2 separate regions of the Homo sapiens genome follow, and region 1 is linked to region 2. The links are contacts of gene promoters, found by promoter capture Hi-C in human tissues and cell types (Jung and others, 2019). All regions are on one chromosome and are shown on one strand. The core of a region is centred on a gene start or on the middle of the fragment in contact, and the rest is flanking DNA. Distances in the headings are between cores, read along the strand shown. Region 1 overlaps LARS2 (leucyl-tRNA synthetase 2, mitochondrial). Region 2 holds the start of CDCP1 (CUB domain containing protein 1).

Region 1 (7,101 bases), core at 2,361-4,860, 370 kb before region 2:
ATTGGAGCTAAGAGATACAGAAACTCAGTTTCCATGTTGCTGAGCACTGGGACCATCAGGTCCTAAGGAGATGGGGCAAGACTTGCCACTGCAGCTACCCAAGGTCACTTGGTAAATTGAAATTGGGGAGAGGAGAATCCAAGTCTGGCAGATGAAGGAGAACAGGGCAGAAGAACAGAGAGAAGCAGGAAGAAGAACTAAGAACGAGAGAGCTGAGAAAGAGAGAAGAAAAAAGGAGTGGCTGGTGACTTCCTATGAGCAGTGGGGCCTAGCTCTATTTTCTGCAACTGGGTTTGGGTGGATTTCTTTTCCTTCCAGCCAAATAATCTCTGATTCCAACAGCAACCAAGCTAACAGGGGACCGATGTACAGACCTAAAAGCCAACTCCATACTTCATGAGAGTTACATCCATGAAGGAGACAGAAACCTGCCCTTGCTGATCAAAGTATTCTCACCCAGTAGGCAAGACTACGTGGGAAGGGAAAAGATGTTCACAATACTGCCTGACCCCATGACAGCAGAGAAGGGGAGACTGAAGTCCTAGATGTTTATCCACGCTGTGGTGAGACTCAGGGAACCACTGGCCCCTTTACCCTGCCCCAGGCTGTGTCTAGACCTTAAAACACTGTTATGCAAATTAGGAAAAAATGTATCTTTCTGGGCAGAAAAGTTGAGAAGTTAGAAAAAGTCACCCTCGTTTGGCAGATGTTGCCCTGAAATGTATGGCTTGAGAAACGGCTGCATTTCAGGCCCTACTGAAATCACAGCCTTGGCTTGGTTCTTTTGTGTAGCGCACAAACTGCACAGCTATACATGGGCAGCCTTGCCTGTTACAGAGAACACTTCACTAACTGTGAGGCTGAATTCTATGTGCACCTGAATTTAGCTCTTTCCCTCTGTCATCCATGCTGGAGAGACACTGCCAGTTCTGCTTCTCCAGCTTCTTTTTCTCCCACGGACCGTTATAAACCTTGATATATTTTGCTTTGATGAGGTAATTGCATCGACTGCTTCCCTAAACCCTGTCTCTAATGTTTGGCTGGAGAGGCTGCCTACCATTTACAGGGTTGTCGTGTGACCTAATCTCATCCATTATGCACTAGTTTTTCTAAATGTAATGGTCACAGTGCTGGGGGTTTCTCACAGCTGTCCCTATGTATACTGCATGTCTCCAACTGTTTTCTTTCTTTCTTTTTTTTTTTTGAGACAGAGTCTTGCTCTGTTGCCCAGGCTGGAGTGCAGTGGCATGATCTTGGCTCACTGCAACCTCCACCTCCTGGGTTCAAGTGATTCTCCTGCCTCAGCCTCCTGAGTAGCTGGGATTACAGGTGCATGCCTCCACGCCTGGCTCATTTTTGTATTTTTAGTAGAGACGGGGTTTCACCATGTTGGCCAGGATGGTCTTGAACTCCTGACCTCAGGTGATCCACCTGCCTTGGCCTCCCAAAGTGCTGGGATTACAGGCGTGAGCTACCACACCTTGCCCCTACCCATTTTCTAACATGTCATATATTCCACGTGTGTGCTGGGTGCACGTGATACATCCTCACCATGGCACCTGAAGATCTTGTGATCCTCAGGGTGAAAATGAAGGGTGAAATGTAAAGGGTAAAGGGTGAAAATGCAGAGTGGAAGGAAAAGGCTTGGGAGAGCTGGGACAGGAGGGAAGTTCGGGGAATCAGGGGGAGGTGTTTTACTGGGAAATGCTAAGAGGGGGCTGCTCTGGGGTGCTACGAGTAAACCGAGTGCTGCCCCCCAAGGTTCTGAAATGTGCCACTAGAACATGTTGGGAGAAACACTGGGAGTACCCCAGTTCTGGAAGAATGTGTCTTGGGCCTGGGGGCTCTATCCCTGAGGTGGGCTTTCAAAGATGGTCTGGGATAGGAGGTCATGCCTGAGTTGACTCTGTTACATACAAATGAAAACCCTGCCAGAAGCTGAGGTGGCACTTTGGCTGAAGGGGGCTGCAGCAGAGGAGCAGACGGCCAGTCCAGGACCAGGCTTCAGGGGGCGCAGGCCCAGAGGGAGCTGAGGCTTAGAGACCTCACAGCCAGCGGGTCTCTCTCCTGCATCCTCCCCACTCTAGAGGCAGATGCCTGCTTGCTCAGTAGCTCTCAGGCCTGGCCTTGGCTCTCTGGGAGTACCTGGATGGGACCAGATGGGCCATTCTTACCTGTGAGATCCACTTCCTCTCTCTGTAGATACTGTCCAGATGGTAGGCGGAATGTCTGCCCCTTGATAAGGCCTTGGGCCAGCAGCTTATGAAAAGGCTCCCTGAGGAAAGATGACAGGAAAAGAAAACAGGAGGAGTGGGACATGAGGCATTGAGAAAACAGCAACGCAGACCTTCCCTCGGATGGGCAGAAGTAGCTGCCCCTCATAAAAGCAGGCGGGCTGACCAAGGCCACTTATAAACCCAGCTTAAACAAATGGCTCCTTAGAAATAAGTGATAAGAAAATAAATTCAGGCTGGGCGTGATCCACCTGCCTCGGCCCCCCAAAGTACTGGGATTACAGGTGTGAGCCACCCCACCTGGCCTAAAAAAAGTTTTAAACCATACAAGTCATATATGACTATAAACCTTCTGTTCAAATCCAAACACTACCACTCCTTTCTAGGCCTATGTCCCTTTCAGGAGGCAGTTCTTATTAATAGTTTGGTATATATCCCTGGAAAAGTCTGGAGACATTTTTCAATGCCTTTGTATACATAAATGTGTACCTATCCACATATGGTTTTTATAGATTTTTGGGGATTTATATAAGTGGGATTATACCTTATGTATACTTTATGGTATTTCACTTAATGATATGAATGGATTTCTCCATGGCAGTTCATATAGATCTATCTCACTTTTTAAAAAGTTACCTAGTGTTCTGAAATATGAATTGATTATAACTTATTTATAGTACCTGTTTTAAAAAGTAGTTTTAGTTATACCCTTACTGGGTAAATAGTGACATATAAACTTTTTCTCATAAGAGGATAAGAACAGGTTGACCTTCATACTGAAATTATTGCAAATTTGCAGTTGTTTATTCTTAAGAATCTGCCTGATTCAATTTTGAGGCATTTCAGCAAGACCTATTCCAAACTCAAAGAATGATTCATGGCGATATCTGCTGATAACACACGTTAAGTATTTCGTGTTCAGGGTATCAGGTAGGAGCACTCATTTCCTGGAGATCCAGTGATGTTCCCCACAAACATCACCAGTACATGGCTTTGGTTGCTCAAGGTAAATTTTTAAAGGTGTTTTTAGGGCAAAAGTTAGGAGAGAATGATCTGGATTCAAAGATAAAGATAGGTAGGATGATCAAAATCAGCAGCATTGGCCAGGCGCGGTGGCTCACGCTTGTAATCCTAGCGCTTTGGGAGGCCGAGGCAGGTGGATTGCCTGAGCTCAAAGTTTGAGACTGGCCTGGGCAACATGGTGAAACCCCGTCTCTACTAAAATACAAAAAGTTGGCCAGGTGTGGGGGCGCGCACCTGTAGTCCCCGCTGCTTGGGAGGCTGAGGCAGGGGTTGCTTGAGCCCAGGAAGCGGAGGTTGCAGTGGGCCGAGATCACGCCACTGCACCCCAGCCTGGGAGACAGAGCGAGACTCTGTCTCCAAAAAAAAAAAAAAAAAAAAAAATCAGCAGCATTAAGCCTCAAGAAGGGGCTGGGAATCCAAGGAATCCTATTCTTAGGTCTTGTATTTTATCAAGTGGCACAACACTGCCACCTTCCGAGAACGGACAGAATTGCAACCTGCGAAAAACTGACTAACCCCAGCTGTTCAGCCTAAGGCTGCAACTTTTGCCTCGTCTTTTATAACTTTTTTTTTTTTAAGGTAAACTGTTGAGGTATAGCACACATATTGAAAAGTGTAAGTCCTAGCGGTATAATGATGAATCTTCACAATATAAAACACACTTGTGTAACTGGCATTCAGCCCAATTAGCAGAACGTGAAATCAACCTTCCATCCGCTTCTAGGCACTGTCTCCTCACTATGGGCCCCTATAGCCTGACTGCTAACACTATTATTTCATCTGCCTGTTTCTAACCCGCTTGTAGCCATTTCTTAGTGAGAGCTCTCAGGGGATGTCCACATGGGAGGCTTTCCCCAGAACTGGCAGGCAGGTCCTCAGCAGTGCACCCACACCAAGACCTGCTAGTTACATGAATATATCCTAATGTCTGAAAGCTTCCAACAATGAAACTTGACAGTTGAAGCTCTTCTGGACTGTCTTCTCTGAGGGTTGCAGTGCAGCAGGGGCCATCTCAGATGGATCATCTAGAGCAGGGATGGCAAAACCTAGCCAACTATCCCCAGTGCCCTTGCCTACAACCACCCAGACACCATTCATCGACAGCAGCACTCCTGGTGCTCAGAACGAGTCTCTGAATTCTTCTTCGTACCATATAATCAGAAAGCACAGAGTTATTATGTGAAATGTATCACTTATTTCTTTGGTATTTCTTGAGTGCTTGCTATGTGCCTGGCACTGAGCTAGGCACTGGGGATATAATGTTGGGCAAAGCAATCTCTGCCCTTGGGGAGCCAGCCTGTTTACGATCACTGAACCAAACCAATGCCTGACAACTCTCAGAGCTGTGAGGGAGGAAAAGAAAGAGTGCAGTCATATTTGAAGAGCTCCTCCTCCCAATCAAGTCCAAATTCCTCCGCATAGCCATCCAGGACTTCTCCCTGTCCCCTGCCACTCCCTCTGCTCTTTCAAATGTTGCCTGCATGTGCTTCCACGTCTTTACTCACGCCATTTCCCAAACTGTTATCAAAACTCTAGTCCTCCTTCCTGGCTCAACTCAAATGCCATCTCCACTGAGAAGGTATCTCCTGGTCAGAATTAGAATTAGTTGTTTTTTCCTTCCTGATGCATCCTGTGTAGTGCCTGTAATTGTATCTAGCAGCTATTACATTTTATTGTGTATTTAGGTAAGCTGCTTGCCTGTCTTTCTCCTGTGAGGAGTAGGAGGATGATTTTTTTTTGAGACAGGGTCTTGTTCTGTCACCCAGGCTGGGGTGCAGTGGCACAATCACAGCTCACTGCAGCCTCAGTCTCCTGGGCTCAAGTGATATTCCCACCTTACCCCTGCAAGCAGCTGGGACCACAGGCGCGCACTACCACACCCAGCTAATTTTTTGTATTTTTGGTAGAGATGAAGTCTCACTATGTTGCCCAGGCTGGTCTTGAACTCCTGAGCTCAAGCAATCCTCCTGCCTCGGCCTCCCAAAATGCTGGGATTACAGGCATGAGCCACTGCTCCTGGCCTTGAAAATCCTTAAAGGCCACTCTCAGTCTCCAGTTCCTAACAGATGCTCAGTAATGTTAATTGCCTTGAACTCAATCAAGCTTGTTTCAGTGGATGAATAAACCTACCAGCAGCAGGGGTGGGGGATAATGTGAGTAGGACAAAGTGGAGGCAAGAGAGGAGGGAAGAAAGAAATGAGTGAAGTGGGGCACTGGATGCTATACTTTCCAGCTAGTGCCACCATCTTTTTGCAGGGAGGGGTGCATTGAAAGATCCCAAGCAGCTGAAGCAAGAGAATGAGAGCAGGGGAATGCCCCGATGAGTGCTCACATGGAATTTCCCAGTGGGGAAAGGGGCGCTTCCCAGCTCCTAGAATCCTGCTCATTCCCAAGTGTTTTCCCTCCACTTTTCCAGGGAGCCAGGGAATGGGCTATAGGGAGTTGGGAATCTGGTTTTCACTCTTGGCTGAAGCTGGCCATGTCTACTCTCATGCGTAGTTTAGCTCTGAATGAGTCACACTTGTTTATTCATTCAACATGTATTTACATGATAATTGGGTACACAGCACTAGGCAATTAATTGGAGAGCTTACAATAAGAACAGGCAGCCCAGGACATGCTCATAAATAACCATCAGCACTACAAGAAAGACGTACCAAATGTGATTTGGAGGCGCAAGGTGCACAGGAATGAAGGACAAAGGACATCAAGGGCCCTGCTGGACTTGGAACCCAGGCCTGCTGGAGCAGAGATCACATCACATTGCCAAGTTCATTATTCAGATTCACAATTGGGGTAATGTGTTTCCCTTTTGTTCACTCATTCATTCACTCAACAGATGGTACTTGGGAACAGACTTGCGTATGCAACTGAGTTATTCATTCATCATAGTGACTGTGCACAGCAGGGGCCTTTATAAGTGAGTGGAAAATCTGCAACTCTAAACCACTAACAAACCGTTCTGACTCAGGGACCATCAAACGCGGGAGTATTAGGCAGGGCCTCTGCCTTGAAGAAGGCCCTGGATTTCTGAGTCAGCTTTCTTCCTACTCCTTCGGTACATCCCTGGAGGTAGATCATGCTTGCTTGCACTGAAGCACAGCTATATGTAAGCACAGTGATGAAAACTGGGGGGAGATCTTCACAATTTCTTCATTAGTTTAGACTGCACTAACTCAGAAATTGCAACAACTGATAGCTGCTGGGCATTGAAGGCCACATTTGTCCCACTTGGAAGAAGGAAAGAAGGAAGGGAGGGAGGCAGGGAAAGAGGGGAGGAAAGGTAGGGAGGGAGGAGAGGGAGGAAGGGAGGGAAGGAAGGGAGTTGCTAATTATTAGGATAAACAAGGAAATTCAGAACATTGATTGATTGGCCATGTTAAGTGCTCTTAAAAAAATCACTATATACAAGGAATGTGCTAATTACAGTATGAGCAAAGAATATCAGGATGTATCAGAGCCCCACCTTCTTGCTGCAGATGACATTTACCTATTCATGAAGCCCCAGAGAGCCTGCTGCCCACTCCCCTGACCTGGTGCGAGAGTGGCCTGCCAGGCTGCAGATCTTTGAAGGCCATAGATCTCTGAAAATGGTCTCCAAATTGGACTTTTCATTAAATCAGACTAAGTTTACCTTCCTCTTCTTCCTTGTTCTGTGCCCAGGGCCATCATGTCACATAATTAGCCTAGTTTCTAAGTATTAGCCATGGCTCATTCTTGAAATATCACCATTCCCATTTCCTAGCAGCCAGTTAGTGGCGCAGAAGGAGGGTTTACTAATACAGCAGGACCCAAGTAAAGCTTCTCTTCCCTTCCTGTTCCTTTTCCCAGTAGCCCCGTTTCT
Region 2 (7,017 bases), core at 2,172-4,671:
CGAGATCGCGCCATTGCACTCCAGCCTGGGTGACAGAGCGAGACTCCATCTCAAAAAAAATAAATAAATAAAAATTAAAATTAAAATGAGATATTAAAAAGCTAAGTTGGTGGGGCTTAATTGAAAGCCTCATGGTAGGAAGCTGGTTGGCCTGTTTATGAGGGTCTAATGTCCATATGTTTGGGTCTTTCCTCCTGTGCTGGTCAGACTCCCCAGAAGAAGACTTTTTCCATCCCCAATATGGATAACAAAGCCTTTTTGTCTCATCCTTGGATGCAGGTTGGGGCCAGACAGCTGGGGATCTCAGCATTCAGAATGCATATCTTCCCTTTATTTACCTACTTTTACAATGTTTCCTATGCTTTCAGCTATGCCTGGCATCCCTCAGCCCACATCCCTAGGTTTTAATCTCTCCAGAAGACAACACTAAAGTTGTTAAGCTTACCAACCCTCTAACTTGTCAAGATCTAAAGATCGATAATATAGGCAGACTCACATCAAGGCACATTATGGTGAAATTTCAGAAACCAATGAACAAAAAGAAGATTCTACAGCTTTAGAGGCAAGAAAAGGGTCTCAAAGAAAATAATAAAAATGAGAATGGTTTTGGATTTCTCAAGAACAACACTGGAAGCTGGACGAGGGACTGTTGCCCAGGCAAGGGTAATGATGGATGGGTTCTGGGATCTAACCACAGTACTTCTCAAACAGCTTTCTTCTAGCCTTTCTTGTTTAACTCCTCTTTCACCCTCCAGTTGCAGAATACCTTGTGCTGCCATTTCCTGAGGATCTTTTTTGAGGATTTCTGTGTTAATCGTGTTATTTCTGAGTTTTCCCCACTACTGGCTTAGGGTTCTGCCATCTCCAGGCTCCTAAGGCAGCTACCACTAGTCCAGCTGCTGTCTAGCTTCCAGGGTGATTTTGCTGTTGTCTTCTCTCTGTTCTTCCCACCTTTGTGGGCTTATGTAATTTTTTTTAATCCCTGTTTTACAGCCTTTGCAGGGTTTCAGAAGAGGTCAAAATTAGATGGGACAGTCTGTTTTAAGACTCACCTTCCTTTTTTTTTTTTTTCTTTTTTTAGAGAGAGAACTTTACTCTGTCGCCCAGGCTGGAGTGGAATGGTGCAATCTTAGCTCACTGCAACCTCCACCTCCCAGGTTCAAGCAATTCTCCTGTCTCAGCCTCCTGGGTAGCTGGGACTACAGGCGCCCGCCACCACAGCCGGCTAATTTTTGTGTTTTTAGTAGAGATGAGGTTTTGCCATGTTGGCCAGGCTGGTCTCCAACTCCTGACCTCAAGTTATCCACCCACCTTGTCCTCCCAAAGTGCTGGGATTACAGGCATGAGCTACTGCACCCAGCCGAAAATTTACCTTTCAATCTCTCATTTCTCTCTAGCACTAGATTATAGTTACCTACGTTGCTTTCCAGTTCAGAAATAACCTTTTAAAATTTACTCCTTCCATTCAGCCATGTTTGTAAAGACAAAACATGTCCATTCTTGGCAATGCTTTGTTCACACTCCACTTGGAGGACCAGGACAGTATGTCAGGACATCTTTACTTCAACTATGTAGTTGGGTTGTCACGCAAAGGATGCTGAAGTGCCTCCCTATTTTCTTCTTTCTCGTTGCTGCTACTTTCTGGAACCACCACCAATGCTTCATATTTGGGAATTAGTGACTCTCATTCCATTTTCAGAAAGCTGGTGTCAACTATCCCAAGAAAGACAGTTAAGCAAACTTTGGAGAGACGAAATAGTAAGGAAATAACTTGTTCCTTAGGCTTAACTTGTCAAGCAATATTTCTGATATTTTGCATTCAATACACTGCCATTCTAGTACTGTTGTGGGTATTACTGTATGTGGGAAACAATGGTGTCATGGATGTTAGGAAAAGATGCTGGGATATATATGCCTGCTTAGAATCAGGAGAAAAGACAAATCTCCTTTCACCCTCCTGGTCAGCATAAATATTTTTAAAGATTGTTTAGATTTTTGTCAAGATTTCTTTCTCTTGATGAATTTGTCCTCGATTCAGTGGGGAGAACCAAGAGCCTCTCTTCGTTTCTCATCCTCTCCCTTCCCTCTAGTTCTCAGTTTTCCCATTTTTCTGCACAAGGACAGAAGTGGACTAGAAGATTACATCTAAGGTCCCGTTTAGCTCACGATACAGGCCCTCCCAGAGGTGGGGGTGTGGGCAGGGTCATGTTCCAAGTTCTGCCTCCCTCGATGGACTGTGGGCTCCCAGAGGGCAGAGCTAGCTCTATTCTCATGATTAAGGACATCGAGAAGGAAGGGGTGACGCTCCTAGGAGATGATTTCCCACCCCTGTCCACAAGGAGGATTGGGGCAGCCTGGAGAGGCTCAGTGCCCGCAAGAATTAAGCAGAAGTTGGGACTGGACTGTAAACTGATGCTGTCGCACATGCTTTGGTTCCTGTCCCAAGCCTCCCAGGTTGCTCCGGGTGACTCTGGCCCAGCTTCTGGCTATCCATGAACACAAGTAGTCCCAGGGAGTCATTCTGGCAGAACCCAGGTCTGCTAGCTAAGAACTCCTGAACCATCCGCAATCTCTGCCTGTGGCCTGGACTTGGTGTATGGCCGGCAGGGTGGAAGGAGAACCCACAGGGCCTCTGAAGACAGGCAGGTGGCACACCTGCGGCTGGGAGGATTTGGAAAAGGAGTCCAGCGCCATTCATTTTTCATTCATTTTCCAGCCCAACGTTTGACCTGAATGCTTCACGCTCACACTGCACACACTACTCCATTTATAATACAACTCGAGAAGGGCACATACTACTCCATCCACAGCTCAGTGAAGGGATGCATACTACTCTACTCACAATTCAACGAAGTGGTGCATCTGCCTCTAATTTACTAGCTACCCTGGGGACCTTGGACACGTTGCGTGTCTGGAAATACTGCAGGTGATGTGTGTGGAGTAGGCTGCAGGCTCACCGTCCTGCAAATACTAGCTGTACCACCACCGGCTTTAAAGTCCAACAGACCTCTGGCCCAAGTCAAGTAGCAGAGGATCCAGGGCTTGGGTGGCCCACAAATAGGATTCTTCTCCAAAACGAGGCGCATAATGGCCTTTGTCTCCTCGACAGAAAAGGGAAGGTAGACTGGCTTCCTCTATGGGCGACCTTCGCGACTCTGGAGAAAAAGACCTCATCATTCTCAGACTTGGGAAGGAAGACTAAGCCCGGAAAGGTGGGGACAAGTCCGCTCCAACGCCGCAATGGGGAGTAGTAGGGACCCAGCAACCCGGTGCCGGGAGCCCTGCACCCTGGGAGGGAGAGGCGGTCGCTGAGGCAGGAAGAGGAGGAGGAGAGAGAGGAGGGACGCACCGGGTCAGCTCGCGATCCTGCTGCGCAGGGCGGGGCTCGGGCCGGTCCGCCCGCGCGCAGGTGAGTGAGCCAGGGCGGAGCGCAGCTGCGCCGGGCTTGGGCGCCTGGGGCCGCCGCTCCCCACCGTCGTTTTCCCCACCGAGGCCGAGGCGTCCCGGAGTCATGGCCGGCCTGAACTGCGGGGTCTCTATCGCACTGCTAGGGGTTCTGCTGCTGGGTGCGGCGCGCCTGCCGCGCGGGGCAGGTGAGTGCCGGGCTTTGGAGGCGGATGGCGTGGAGTGGTGAGCTAGCCAGCCAGCGGACGCCCGGCGGAGATGCGGCCGAGGGACGCAGGGTGCGGAGGGTGCGGAGGGTGCGGAGAGAGGGCGGGGACGGCGTAGTCAAAATGCGCGGGTGGCTCCGGGACCCCCGGACTGTTCGGTTCCTGCGCGCGCCGCGTCGGGCGCGTGGGCCTTGCCCTCCTGGAGTCAACCTTGCCCTCGGCACGTGAGAGTGTCCCCGATCGGGGAGCCTCCCGGTCCGGGAGGATGAGCCCGGTGCTGGCCGAGAAGGCGGGAAAAGGAGCTCCCGGTAGCCGATCCCAGGCGACATGTCCAAGGTGGCGCGCCGTGCGCCCCAGGGTCTTTGCCGGGATTCTTGAAAGCACCCAGGCAGGGTGTGGGAAGAGATCTTTCCTCTCCAGGCTCGCCCTCTACCTCCTCGCCTGGTCCAGAGAGAAGGTGCAAAAAAAGTGCTTTCACGTCCGCATTTCCCACTAGATCCCCTTTTTCCCGTCCGCACGCTGCATTCCCCCTCTCCTAAAGTTGAAGAGCGTTGGTGCAAAAATGAAAGCGCCCGGATTTCTTTTAGGGGGTCCCAGAGAAAGCCGCCAGGCATCTGCGCCACCGCAGAGACTGGACATTCCCGCGCCCCTCGCACTTTTTGGCAGTGGACTTTGAGGGCAGGAGGCTGTTGTTCCGGGGATATGTGTGAATTTCGAGTTGTTTCGGTTGGGGGAAGGGACCAACACGTCCCAGTGACCTGTGCCAGCCAGGAAATGCCCTGTGGGCCCTGGATGTATTAGAACGTAGTAAATAACCTGGTTTCTTCATGTAAGAACTTGATGTGAGGCTAGTACAGGTTTCGCGAGATTAGTACAGGTTTTGTGTTTTTTAAATAGAGCTCTCCAGGAAGCCATGTGGGTTTGATTCCCCTTGCTGCATCTAGGGTGGATTTGTGTTTGGCAGGTGTAAATTAGATAAAGGAATAAAAGGACGCAAGTGAGGTTGAATTTGGGCGTCCCGGTGACTGCCGTCTTTACAAATACAAGACAGGAGCTTCTAAAATATCAATATAAGCTCCAGGAATACTTCCTGGTTCATTCTCCAACATCAGGTGACATATTGCTGCATAGTAGATAGAAAATTTAAAACTTCATTTAAACCATGGCATGGATTTATAAATATATATATAAATTATATATATTAAAGTAGAGACAGGGTTTCACTGTGTTGCCCAGGCTGGTCTCGAGCTCCTGAGCTCAAGTGATCCTCCCACCTGGGCCTCCCAAAGTGCTGGGATTACAGATGTGAGCCACTGTGCCTGGCTGATGAATATTTACTATAATTTCTTAGGACTGAATTTCCAAGATTCCCTTTGAAGAAAAAGAATTAGTTTAAGAATAAAAAGGAAGTGAAAATATGTGTATATGTGTGCTGAGAAAAATGCGTGCCTACCAGTCTTGGAACAGTATTGAAACTCTGGGAATTATCTGAGATGTTTTTGGCTTTCTGTGACAACAGTGGGGAACTCTTCCAGTCAGAACAGGGTGTTAATCAAGGCATTGCTAATAATGAGAGCCTCTGTTCCTGGTCTCATTTCTCCCTGTGATCTGGGAAGGCTGCCATTTTGGTCCAGTAACTCCAATGGAGTCCCTTCCAGGAAGTCCTTGACTGGCTGAGCCCTGTCTCATGGTTCAATACATAAATACGTAGAAACCTAGGAACTTTCCCTTTCGCTTTCTTAAGTTCCTCCCTATGGTCTCAGGAACTGGCCCTTTGAGGGTACATCAGGCTGAACTGAGAGCTTTTGTGGTTGGAGTAGTTGCCTGTAGTCTTGAGGATCTAAGTGGCAAAGGCCTTTGAGAAATTCCTGGAGACTGTCCTGAAAGGATACAGAAAGCCAGAGCCCTGGCACAGTGGATTTGTTTTATAAATCCATGAAGTCTCTTAACAAAGAAAGACTCAGCAGAGTAAAAATGAATTTGGTGTCACTGCAGAGATGAAAAGTAAAGGAAAGTTTGTGTCTTGGTGTCGTGTGTTTGTGTGACTTTGGTATCCCCACCAACTCCCCCATTTCCAAGAGTGAAACACTGGTTACATTGGGATCATAGCCTTTTGAAAACCTCCATTTGGTTGCTTTCTAAGAACCACTCAGATACCAGAGTCTGGGTCAGTGACCCCAATCTTGCCACCATTGTCTCTTGCCAAAAATGTGAGCAGACAGATCAAATGATATATTCACACTCCCTGGGTGAGTGTGGGTGTTCATTCTGTTTCCGATTCAAATGAGGAGCTACTGGCTGTTGTCTGGAATGTGTAACTGGTAGCGCTGATGAGTCTCCCCCATCTCCTCCCCCACATCCCCACAGATTTGCATGACTTGGAGTCAGACCTGTTAGCCCTAGGGCTCACCTCAGATGCTGCCATTTCATCTATGATGGTTGCACGCCTTGCATGTGCACACACACACTCTTCTGGGTGTTCTCCCTGGCTATCAATATGGGGGAAGGAAGTTAATAATTAAGATGTTTTAAGTAGCATATAGTTATTGTAGAAAAAGTGGCAATAAATATAACCAAAATGGAAAAAAATTATCTATAAGCAAACTGCCTTATTCACTTTGATGCAGTCTTCTTAATGTGTATGTATGCACGCTCATGTGCACAAACCAAAAATGGGATCATCCCATTGTATGGCTTTAACCAGTCCCCAGTTGTTGGACATTTAAGTTGCTTCCAGTTTTTCTTATTAAAAATAGAACACGTCCAACAATAGCCAGCTGCTTGTATCAATTTTAATAGGTCTATTCAGTGAAAAGGCACTTGAAATTACATAGCACAGACTAGAAAATGACATGAAAGGATGAACCATTATCCTCATGTTGCCAAGGTTATAAAATGGTATCAACTGGATTATCCCATTTTGATGTATCTAAGAATGTGTTCTTCAGCTGTGTTGTTCTGCACACTCTTTTTTTAAATTTTTGAGACAGAGTTTCACTCTTATTGCCCAAGCTGGAGTGCAATGGCGCGATCTCGGCTCACTGCAACCTCCGTCTCCCAGGTTCAAGCTATTCTCCTACCTCAGCCTCCTGAGTAGCTGGGATTACAGGTGTGCACCACCACACCCAGCTAATTTTTTGTATTTTTAGTAGAAACGGGGTTTCACCATATTAGCCAGGCTCGTCTCAAACTCCTGACCTCAGGTGATCTGCCCGCCTCGGCCTCCTGAAGTGCTGGGATTACAGGCGTGAGCCACCGCGCCCATGTTCTGAACATTCTTAACTATTTTGTCCAGCTACAGTTCTGGAAGCAGAGTTGCTGGGATGAAGAGTAGAGAGGCTCTTAGGGCTTTGGACGCGCATTTCCACGTTCTGGAAGCAGAGTTGCTGGGATGAAGAGTAGAGAG

The links. The method cuts DNA at HindIII sites, captures the fragments that hold promoters and counts their contacts. A contact is called where the count stands out against the background at its distance.
Region 1: a fragment that was not itself captured here is called in contact with the fragment with the promoter of CDCP1 in region 2 in 1 of the 25 tissues and cell types used here (H1 embryonic stem cells).

Annotation. Positions count from the first base shown.
Region 1 is chr3:45,508,309-45,515,409 of GRCh38, reverse strand. LARS2 (leucyl-tRNA synthetase 2, mitochondrial) reads right to left here. Exons shown (of 22, transcript NM_015340.4): 16 at 2,175-2,275. It overlaps LARS2-AS1 (LARS2 antisense RNA 1), which reads left to right and starts at 5,865. Exons shown (of 4, transcript NR_048543.1): 1 at 5,865-6,053. RefSeq lists a silencer at 5,499-5,793 and an enhancer at 6,620-7,101. The HindIII fragment of the contact is 5,198 bases long and covers 1,012-6,209 here.
Region 2 is chr3:45,142,782-45,149,798 of GRCh38, reverse strand. CDCP1 (CUB domain containing protein 1) reads left to right here and starts at 3,421. Exons shown (of 9, transcript NM_022842.5): 1 at 3,421-3,593. The coding sequence starts at 3,512. The HindIII fragment of the contact is 13,721 bases long and covers 1-7,017 here.